Regions from separate parts of the Homo sapiens genome. Here region 2 is linked to region 1. Evidence: promoter capture Hi-C in human tissues and cell types (Jung and others, 2019). All regions are on one chromosome and are shown on one strand. Each heading gives the region's core, a stretch centred on a gene start or on the middle of the fragment in contact. The rest is flanking DNA. Distances are from core to core; before and after follow the strand shown.

Region 1 (5,386 bases), core at 1,097-3,596:
TGATCAAGACAAGGGCTCTGTCCTCAGGGAACCGCAAAGAGTCACAGAGACAGGCAGTGACAATGCAGTCATTGCAACGATGAGCAGGAAAGGACTTCAGGCATCCAGATAGCAGAGCAAAGGATGAGACTGTGGGTGGTCAGGGAAAGCTTCCTGGAGGAGGTAACGACAACTGGATTTTGAAAGGCAGACTAGACAAGAAAGGACAATCCATGCATGGGGACCATCACATGCCAAGCACAGAGGTACAAAAAACAGCACAGGGTGTGCAAGAAACTCATACTGGTAGGTCGGAAAACAATTAACGGCCCTTCATATTCTTGGCATCTGCCACCCGATGTGACTCAGGAATTCCGGTTCTGACCCCTTCCTCAAACTCAGTGCAAGCTTCAATCCCCAGAGAAGAGTCTGAATTCCCCATACTTAGACACTGCAGTGGGTAACCAACCTTAACTGCCGGCTCCCAGACTAGGGTGGCCCAGTCCACAGAGAGAGAGTTGAGAGGGATGGAGAATACATAAATCTCTAGCTATATTTAGCCTGCCTGGCGTGTGTCTGTCCCTTTACGCACCCCAGGGCTGACCCACAGGTGGCAGAATGGCTTTTTACTAGAATAGTATAAACATTTTTAAATTAAGAAACCAAGGAAAGGGGCCTGTGCCGAGGTGCCTCATCCCAGTGTCTATGTGGCGAGAATATCTGCTGCCCTATTTGCCAACATCCCCAGATATCTCCTGACCCGCGGGTGGGTTCTCCCCCAACCTGGCAATAGCCCTGTCCACAGGAGGTAGAGGCCACCCTCCAGTAAGCAGACCTGGGTTCTAATCCCACCTCTGCCACTGACTAGCTGGTGACTCTGCTGATGATTACAGCTCTCTGGGAATTTGAACGTTTGAGTGCAGTTGCTCAGAGGCTTGTAAAGTAGGAGTTGGCTCCTCTTCCATAAGCTGACCCTGGGAATCCTGGGCTCAGCACTGTCCACTTCAACCCGCTCCAGGGGAAATTATTCTTTAAGAGCATGTAATGCCTAGAAGGGAGAGCTATATGGGAGTGTTATAGCAGAGATGGGGTGATATGTCCCTCTTCCAGAACCTCACACTAAATTAACCTCACAGCTGACTTGCTTCCCCATTGAGCCGAGCCTTTGTGCTTTAGACACACACACACTCCTCTCACCTTTTGCCCAAAGGATGCTACAAAGGCCCAGCCTTAAGACAAAATACTTCTAAATACTTGGGCGTGTGAGGGGAGGGAGGGCAGAGAGACACAGGTCCCACTCCAGATTCTCCCACTACTAGCTGTGTGACCTTGGGTGAGTCATTTCACCTCTTCTGACACTCAATTTTTTTATTTGTAAAACTGGGATACACATCTTTATCGCGAAGCTTCTTTGCATACCGAGCTGGGGTATGCAAAGTGCTGGGCACTGAACCTCCACGGGCACGCGCGGGCGCGGGACCGCTGATCTGTTCCCACAATTACCATGTATTTTCCAGTAAGGCCTCCTCCTACCCCGTTAACCTGCTCCGGATCCCCTCACTCCGGTCCCAGAAATTCTGGGGCGATTTTAACTAGGGGGCGATGCGATCTGCAGCAGCGACTCCGAGGGGGCGAAGGAGTCCCCAGTGGAGCGGACACCAGAGGGGGGCGCAACCGGGGTGCGCGTGGGAACGTGGCCAAAGCACGGCAGCATGTGCCGCGGGGGCGCTGGGAGGCTGGAAACTGGGGTGCCCCTGAGAGCACCCCTCACTCTCGGCAGCTGCAGTCTTGGCACCACGGGTGGCTTCTGACCGTCGGAAGCCCTGGCGAGCCCGGCTCCAGTCACCCCCACCCAGGTCGCCTTGAGTTTGCTCATCAGCGCCCTCGGGCTGGAACAAAGGCGAGGGGGCGCGCGGCATCGCCCCAGCGGCCCTTTTTGCGCATCTGGCCAAAGCCGGGAGAATGAGGACTGGGGTCCCCAAGGTAACCAGGACGCGGTACCCGCCCTCCCGGGGCGCAAAGCCCAGCCGCGGGGCGCGCGCCGAGCTGAGGTCCGGGAGGTACCGGAGACTCCAGCCCGCTGCGAGCCGAGGGCTCCAAGGGCCGTGGGGTAGCTCTCCAGAGTCACCCAGCGGGTCCCCCGGAGGAGAGAAGCCCGGCGCCCGCCTCCCGGGCAGGGCTCCCCGGCGTACCTGGCAGGGTCCGGTGCACCGTGTTGCCCATCGCTGCGTCGGGCGCGGCGTTGGCGGCGGCGCGCTCTGGGCGCGCGGAGGCTAATTACGCGGCGGGCCAGGGACCAGGACCGGGGTCGACGCTCCGGGGCATCGCAGCTGCACGGGCGAGCCGGCGGGCGGCAGCTGGGGCGGGAGCCGGGAGGGAGGCGGCGGCGGCGCCTGCGGGAGGAGGAGGCGGAGCCACCGGCCCGGGCCCGCCGGCTCCGCCCCCGCCTCCCACCGCCTCCAACAGTGCAGGGGCGGGGCCGCGGCCGCCGCATCTTTTGAAAGTTTGCACCAGGCGGCGGGAGAAGCACAGCCAAGCCTCCCGCCCTCGCCGCTCCCGCGCCCGGGCCGGGAAGGCGCGCAGGGCAGCTGGGTGCCCTCGGGTGCCAGGATCGGCAGTCTGCTGGCCTGTCACCCATTTGTTCTAACACTTTGAGAAGGCCCACTGTGTGCCAGGCCCTCTTCCAGGCGCGGGGCCCCAGCCGGCCGAGTCCTAGCCCCGGCAGACCTCTTTGGAGAGTGCTTCGGCCCCGGGGGAACTTACACAGAGGCAGACGGGCCCCTGGGACCATGTAAAGGGCTTGGAGACAGTACACCCAGGGTTCCCGGGTTTGGGTGGAGTCTTTTCTATCCCCTAGGCCAGGTACCGAGGAATAGAAGAAACCCAGTGTCCAAAGATTGGGAAGAGGGAACCCACATTCATTAATTTATTCGCTCATTCACTAAAATATTTATTGAGCACAGTCTATGCACCAGGCACTGTGCTGGGCCGGGTAGATACAGACAAGGTCCCCACTGCCCTGGAGATGGCATGCTGAAGATAGAAATAACAAGCAATTACGATCACATTATATAATAATCAAAGCCAGGAAGAAAATAAAACAGATCCCAGTAGAGTGAGGAGATGACATTGTTTGGGGGCATAGGGAGAATCTGGGGTGGGGGCACATAAGCTCCATCTGATGGACTAGAAGGCGTCGGCCATGAGAAGAGATAGGTAGAGTGTTCCTGGCAGAGGCAGTAACAGGCATTCCTCATTCAGGCACCTGGACCACACTCAGTGGGAAGTGCAGCTGTGCCCTTCTCGAGCTCCATTTCACAGGCTGGAACGCTGAGGCCCAGGAAGTGCAATGACTTCCCCAAGAAGACCCGATTCCAAATGAGCTGTTTTTTTCAATTCTATTTTTCATGCTCTTGTATCCCTTGAGACTTTATGAAATATGTATTATTACTTCCATTTCACAGATAGGGAAATTGAGGCTCTGAGAGTGGAAGAGAGGTGCCCAAGATCTTCCAATGGTACAGGGCAAAGCTAGCCTGAAGCTATGCGAATAAAAGCGGGGTATTCAGGAGACAGCCTTCTGCATCTCCGGTGCCTTCTGCTTACAGTACATGACCCATCCCAGAGGGTTCTAGGGTCTTTAAGGCCAGCTCCAAGCTTCCACTTCCGGGAAACCTTGATTCCCCACTCCCCCCTGACGTCATATGTCTGAACATAAGATTGCCTTGCATTTGAGTTACTAATTTCTCATATTACAGGTGCTCGCCCAGTGACTTAATTTTTAACCCCAAAGTTCTGTTTGAGAAAGGTCCGTTAGCGTGATCCTTTTTTTTTTTCTTTTTTTTTTTGAGACAGAGTCTCACTCTGTCACCCAGGCTGGAGTGGAATGGCACAATCTTGGCTCACTGCAACCTCTGCCTACCAAGTTCAAGCAATTCTCCTGCCTCAGCCTCTTGAGTAGCTGGGATTACAGGCACCCACTACCACGCCCCGCTAATTTTTGTATTTTTAGTAGAGATGGGATTTCATCATGTTGGCCAGGCTGGTCTCAAACTTCTGACCTCAAGCGGTTCCCCCACCTCAGCCTCCCAAAGTGCTGGGATTACAGGCCTAAGCCACCTCACCTGGCTGATCCTCCTTTAATCTATGTGACATTGGGTTGCATATGGAGGTCAGCAATATTATAAAGGGAATTGAGGGAATTTTCCTCAGATAAGGCAATGCAAACAAATATGACTTTGTGACGGCAAGGGTGAGAGGTTGTGAACAGGCCTTTTAAAGGCCACTTTCAGAGTACCTCAGTAAGTGGCCATGTTGTGCAGATCACAAATACTCACCTGCAGCAAATGAATCCCTACTGTCAAAATGTGATGCGGATTGGACCTGCGGTGGAGACACTGTGCCCAGCAGTTGCCTGACATGTGGATTCGAAAGGGCTGTGTGTTAGCCTCTGGATCTCTGAGAGTAGGACCTGCTCTAGTAAAAAGCTGCCCCCAACACACACGATGGTGACACTAGTGTCAAAGCCACACAGAAAAGAATTAGAATCAAATTGTTTCCTGAAATTTGAAACTGCCAAAAGCAATCTTTCCATATTAGTATTCTCTATGAGAATAATTGCAAATATGTTTATATAACTAAAGTAATAAATGAAATATTTCAAGTAGATGTCTATTTCATCTTCACCCCATTAAGTTTATATTATTCAATAAGAAAGTGCATCTTCTCATAGGGAGAATGGGGATTGCCTGTAATCTTTACTTGGATTACCTTATATTTGGGCACATACAGCAGTTGCTCACCCATCTGAGATCCCTCTGCACTTTGTGCTGTCCCCTCAATTACACCCTCAAGACAGGTGTTGTAGCTGTTACCTTTGCGTCCTCTCCACTGCCAGACAGGATGCTCCTGCAGGCAGGAAGAAGGCTGTAATCATCTAGGAAACCCCAGTGCCCAGAACAGGGCTGGCAGACACAGGTGCTCAATACACATTTGCATAAATTGACTGCAGAGATGCATTGCCCTGAGCTGAGAGAAAAACAGAAAAGAAGGAGAGAGGGAAGAAAGAAGGAATGGAGAAAGGTAATAAGAAGGGAGAGGAGAGAAAGAGCTGTGAGAGAATGAGTTTTTGCCATTAGTAGCCCTAGACCCTGGTGTGATGAATAGTAATATGTGCAGGGAAAAATAAGCAAATGAGCAAAATAGGGATGCATTAACAGAAATATAGTCTTTAGGACAAAGGAGGGGCTTGCTGCTCCAGTGCATGTTGGTTAGACCATTCCAGAAGTCGCTTTGGCTCTGGGCACCACACTAGAGAAGGAGGACAAAGCTAGTCCACGAAGGTGGAAGGGTGGCTTTGGGAGAGAGGGAGATCCCTGTCCCAGGAGGTGTGCAAATAGAAACCATA
Region 2 (5,259 bases), core at 1,582-4,081, 52 kb after region 1:
ATAGAAAATTAGAGCAAAGACCGTGAACAGGCAAGTCACAAAACAAGACACATCAATGACTAATAAAAGCCAGAAGACGTTCCTCAGCTGCACAGGCTCAATTGCACCGATCATTTAGTAAATAAAAATTACAACTTCAATCAGATGTCATTTTAAACCCATCAAATCGACAAATGCCAGGGTTTGCACACTCAGAATCTATAAAAGCCAGGCAGGTCTTGCAAATGGGAGAAAGAGCCAAGTGAGACTCCCAAGAGACCAGCTTCTAGAGGGAGCAGACCCTGCGTCCAGGTCATTATCTCGCAGGGATGGGCTTGGGCTGCCAGATTGCTCCACCTGTCAACCATAGTCAGAAATCAGATTTCCGTGAGAATATGACTTTTAATTGTTGGCAACTGCTTCAGAATTAGACCCAGTCAGTTCTACTTTTGGAAATAATTGGATGAATACACAGAGATTCATGCATAAGAATATCCATGGCAGCACTAACTATAATAGTGAAAGACTAGATGCTACTAGATGTCAAGCAATGCAGCACTGACTAAATAAAATATGATGCGTCTCCACAGCAGAGCACTAAGAAGATCTTAAAAAGGCTGGCGTGTCCCGTTGGGTTATTGTCAATACTGGAGGTCTTCGTGGTAGATAAGAAAGATCTGTTATAATTAGAGTAGCCAAAAGCTTTAGATTTGTCCAAATTGGGGCAAACCCCATTCACAAAAAAGCAGTTACAAAATAAAACCACTCAGGTTATATAATATCATGAAGAAAGAACCTTCAGGAGAAACCTTCATGAAATGGTGTCATGAGCAGATATCCTCTGCAGATGAAGCATTCGGAGCAAAGGATTGCAAAAAATGCTCATGTCAAGTCATTCAGCAGCAGCAAGGGATGTGAATGAACAAATGTCCTTTCGAGGAAAAGATCAAGGCTGTGAACAAATCTAAATGAATCCATTTGGTTGGGGGCAATAACAGGGGCCTTATTTATTTATTTATTTATTTATTTATTTATTTATTTATTGAGAGAAGATCTTGCTCTGTCACCCAGGCTGGCATGTAGTGACACGATCATGGCTCACTGTAGCTTCAACCTCCTGGGCTCAAGCAATCCTCTTACCTCAGCCTCCCAAGTAGCTGGGATCACAGGTACGTGCATCACAACCAGCTAATTATTTTTTATTTTTTGTAGAGATGAGGTCTCACCATGTTTCTCAAGCTGGCCTTGAACTCCTGGGCTCAAGTGATCCTCCCACCTTGGCCTCCCAAAGCATTTGGATTACAGGCATGAGCCACTGCACTGGGCCTAATGCAACAGATAGAATGCATAGGAAGTCCTAAAAAGGGGTGTGCCCAGCAACATAATGGGTGAAAGATGCACCCAAGTCTCACAAACCAGGCTCCTGAGTCATCTACCATTGGCTGGTATCTGCAGGCTCAGGCAGCCTGGGAAGTAAACTTCAATTCTTTGGTTGGGTAAATAAAATCCTAGCCCCAGGAAGAAACTAGAAATAACAAGAGATAGTAAATGAAAATAAGAATAGAAGTAATAAAAAGACAAGTTGAAATCCATGATGTTGGTCCTGCTATCACCAGTTATGGTGAAAGTGTTCTTGTCAGCTTTATCGTTATATAATTGTCTACTTTTCAAGATATTTAAAGCACTTACGAGAATTTGAAATAATAGATGTGTGAAGAGCTTATTTGGTTAAGTTTGTAATCAAAGCTTAAATGCTTGGGAACATCTAATTTATTAAATTCATAAGTTTTAAGAACTCAGCAGCTTAATTATTAGAATGTTAAATTTTTTGAGGAGTATTAATTATGGGAAATGAAAAATTAGACGTTGGGCAATGTACAAAATTGTAAGACTATTTCTTTCCGTGCACATTCCCTTGGAGTTCAAGAAATTGTCAATAGTTGGAAAAAAATGAAAAAAATTTAATAGCTGAAAAAGATGCAAAAAATCAACCCTACTTCATGCTGGGAAGAGTGCAGGGAACTGAGACTCTCATATCCCATTGGTGAGAGCATTGTTGCTGCATGTTAGTTTGATCCTAAGTATCAATACTCAAAAGGACCTCACCGTGTGAGGCAGCCACCACACTTCCAGGGTATACAACATGTAAAACAATCATGGTGTACCATCAGTTCTCATTGTTTGTGCCAGTCATGTTCTTTAAAGTTGCTGGGAACACCGAATTAGCAAACATCAAGGCACTGCTCCCAGGGGAAATACAGGGTTAGGGTCCTTTCAGCCTCTGGTCACAACACACTTGTCGAGTGATCAATACACCACCTCGTTGTATGTGTGTTTCTGTTCAAAGACACCTTATTTAGTGTATATTGCAGATTCATTCACGTTGAACTCATGGCCATCACTCAAACCTGAATGAAGCTTCTCTAACATGTCTTTCCTCCATAAGGCTCATCGCAGCCTTCTTGTGCCTAGGGTCACTAGACAGCACGTCAGCTCTGTGCTTGGGGCCATTTTAACAGTGACATCACCAACAAAAAGCACAAAAAATGGTGGCACTAAATACACTGCAAAAGGACGCTAATTTCCAGTGCGAGAGCTGACACAGGAAGGCAGAGCCTGGCCTCGCTCCACCTCGTCTGGGAAGTGCCCATTGGGTGAGGCAAGCTTTTGACTGCTCTGTGCGTATCTGAGAACGACTGTCAAAGTGCAGCAAATATTGCTTTTGGGGTTACAAATAAATTTAAGCAAGTAGGCACATTTGCCAAAAGGAATCTACGAAAAATGAGGATGGACTGTGTGTCAAAAAGATGTTAATGGCGACATTGTAATAATCAAACCATTTGGCTACTGGATAAGGTCTAAATGCTAATTAGTGGGACATTGGTTAGATCAGCACCATTGACATTTGGGACCAGGTAATTCTTCATTAGAGGGAGCTGTCCTGTCAATTGTAGGATGTTTAGCAACATCTCTGACCTCTACCCACTAGATGCCAGTAGCACCCCGCCCCTCAAGTTGTGACAATCAAAAATGTCTCCAGATGCTGCCAAGTAAGAACCTTGGGTCAGATAAACTAGGAGGCAGCCGTGCAATGGACTGCTGTGTCGCCTTTAAACCGCATGATGTCTAAATAGCTTGGGAAGATTCCCGTGACATTTTTGAGTAGAAAAAAAAAGACAGGTGGCAAAACTGGATGTATAATAAGATTCCATTTTTACATCTGAGTGTATTTGCATGCACACACGTAGAAGAAAGAGAAGAGAAAAGGTGAAAGCTTTTCTGACTTCCTGCTGCACGGGTGCATCTGAGGCCTTCACACCAATGAAATCTTGAGTTTTTCGGAGTCCACGGGAGACACAGATTTGAGGGCCACGAGCACTTCCTGCTTGGACTCAGACCCCTGCTGGGAAGGGTTTGGGATCTGGAGTCAGGCCCCACCTCCAGCTGGTGCTCCTGGCAGCCCCTTGCCTGGCATGGAGGACCTCTCTGACGCCGGCTGTCCACTGCACGGCTGGGATCAGCGCTCTTCCCTAGGGATAGGACCCTGGTCCCTACTGCCAGCCCCTAACTGGGATTGCCCTCAATAGGTCACAAGCCCTGGCACTGTGCCCCACTCCCTTGCTCCCCCAGCTAAGCCCCATCTCCAGCCTGAGTCCCTGGTTCATCTAGACAGTTCCTCTGCATAGCAGAATGCCTTGCTAGGTCCTCTACCATCTTCTGGGGTGTGGGTAGAGATCAACCCAGCTGTACCCCAGTGGACAGCAGCAGCAGCTGTGTGGGTTTTACCCCAGTCTCAGCATCCTCCAACTGCCCCCATCAGACATAATGGGCTCTGGAGTTGGACAAACCTGGACACAAATCCTGTCTTGGGCATGTACCACCTGTATGGCTTTGAGCAACTTATTGTTCTTTCCTGAGCTTCATTCTCCTCATCTGCGAAACAGACTCCTCTCAAAGCTATGAGGAGGGTTAGCTGAGCTAATGGGAGTGAAGAATGCAGCACAGTGCATAGTTTCTCCCGAATCAATGGTAGCTCATGGGGTTTCCACTTGGGGTGATGAAAAGTTCTGGAACTGGATAGTAGGCATTGTATGACATTGTGCATGTCTTTAATGCCACTGAACTGTACACTTTAACACAGTTGAGAGGGCAATTTTTATGTTATATGCATTTTACTACAATCGATCAATCAATCAGTCAATCAGTCAGTCAGTCCATCAGTGGCAGCTTCCTTCCCATCTATTCCAGAGCTCTTTATGCTTTGGCCTATCCAGGTTTAATATTTTCATGTCTTTGCCTACTCTTCCACATCCAGATACTCCTTAGAAAAGTGCTCTGACCTTAGAGTTGAGACATCTTGTCTTTTCCTCTTCTTGGAAGGCTCAGAACCCCAGAGACCTTCCATAGAGCAGGCCAGGGAAGGGAGGGACCAGAGGAGACAGGGCTGACCATCCCCCATGATTCGAGCTCCGTAACTATAGTTGGCACCTGGGAGGGAGGAACAACTGGCCCAGGAGTTTGGAAGGAATCCTTCATCTCTCTGGGGTGTTGGGGGTCAGCAGCTGAGGCCCTCCTCGGTCTGTAGCTAAGCCTGGACTGGTGAGCTCCCCCACTCAGCCTCCTCGACCACAAGCCCCTCAGGGCAACCTGCTCGCTCTAAATTCATCATCACCCCTATCCCAGCTGCCTCTTCCCTTTTCTGGGATTCCAAAACCGGGGAGCAGCACCTAAGTCTATTCAGCTGTCCAAGCCAGAGACCCAGAGCCCAGAACCCTCCTTCTCCCCACTTCTGACTTTCCTCCAGACACTCAGGAGCCCAGAATTCTCTGCCCAAACTTCCAGGGCCCGCACAGAGGACCGAGTTCCACCTCCTGAGAGTGGACTGCACCACTGATGTGTGCATCAAGCTGCCTCCAGAGGGTGGGAGATGGGGTCCAGGCCCCGCCTCCTGCTCAGGAAGGCTGGGTGGCGAGGGCTGGAGGAAACAAGCACATCTTTTTGCCCGAGGACGGATGATGGAAGTGTGGGCTAGGTCCACTGTGTGTGTGTTGCCGGGGGGGCAAAGAGAGGGGTGAGCCTGCTTCCACTCCCCAGAAACAGAGGGGTGAGCCTGCTTCCACTCCCCAGAAACAGACGGGTGAGCCTGCTTCCACTCCCCAGAGGGGACTTGTTTCCTCCAGCCCCCACCACCCAGCCTTCCTGCGCAGGAGGCAGGGCCTGGGCCCCATCCCGCACCCTCCAGAGGGCAGCTTTCCGTCACTCCCTAAGTGTTTAATCCCA

What was found. The method cuts DNA at HindIII sites, captures the fragments that hold promoters and counts their contacts. A contact is called where the count stands out against the background at its distance.
Region 2: a contact is called between a fragment that was not itself captured here and the fragment with the promoter of NEURL1B in region 1, in 10 of the 25 tissues and cell types used here (H1 embryonic stem cells, IMR-90 fibroblasts, bladder and 7 more).

What each region holds. Positions count from the first base shown.
Region 1 is chr5:172,638,223-172,643,608 of GRCh38, reverse strand. It overlaps NEURL1B (neuralized E3 ubiquitin protein ligase 1B), which reads right to left and starts at 2,346. Exons shown (of 5, transcript NM_001142651.3): 1 at 2,172-2,346. The coding sequence starts at 2,202. It overlaps LOC107986478 (a long non-coding RNA gene), which reads right to left. Exons shown (of 3, transcript XR_001742996.2): 3 at 5,131-5,386. RefSeq lists a silencer at 2,295-2,584. The HindIII fragment of the contact is 6,548 bases long and covers 887-5,386 here.
Region 2 is chr5:172,586,837-172,592,095 of GRCh38, reverse strand. No RefSeq gene overlaps it. Among named protein-coding and RNA genes, the nearest start is that of LINC01944, 30 kb to the right of the region's middle. The HindIII fragment of the contact is 3,256 bases long and covers 1,204-4,459 here.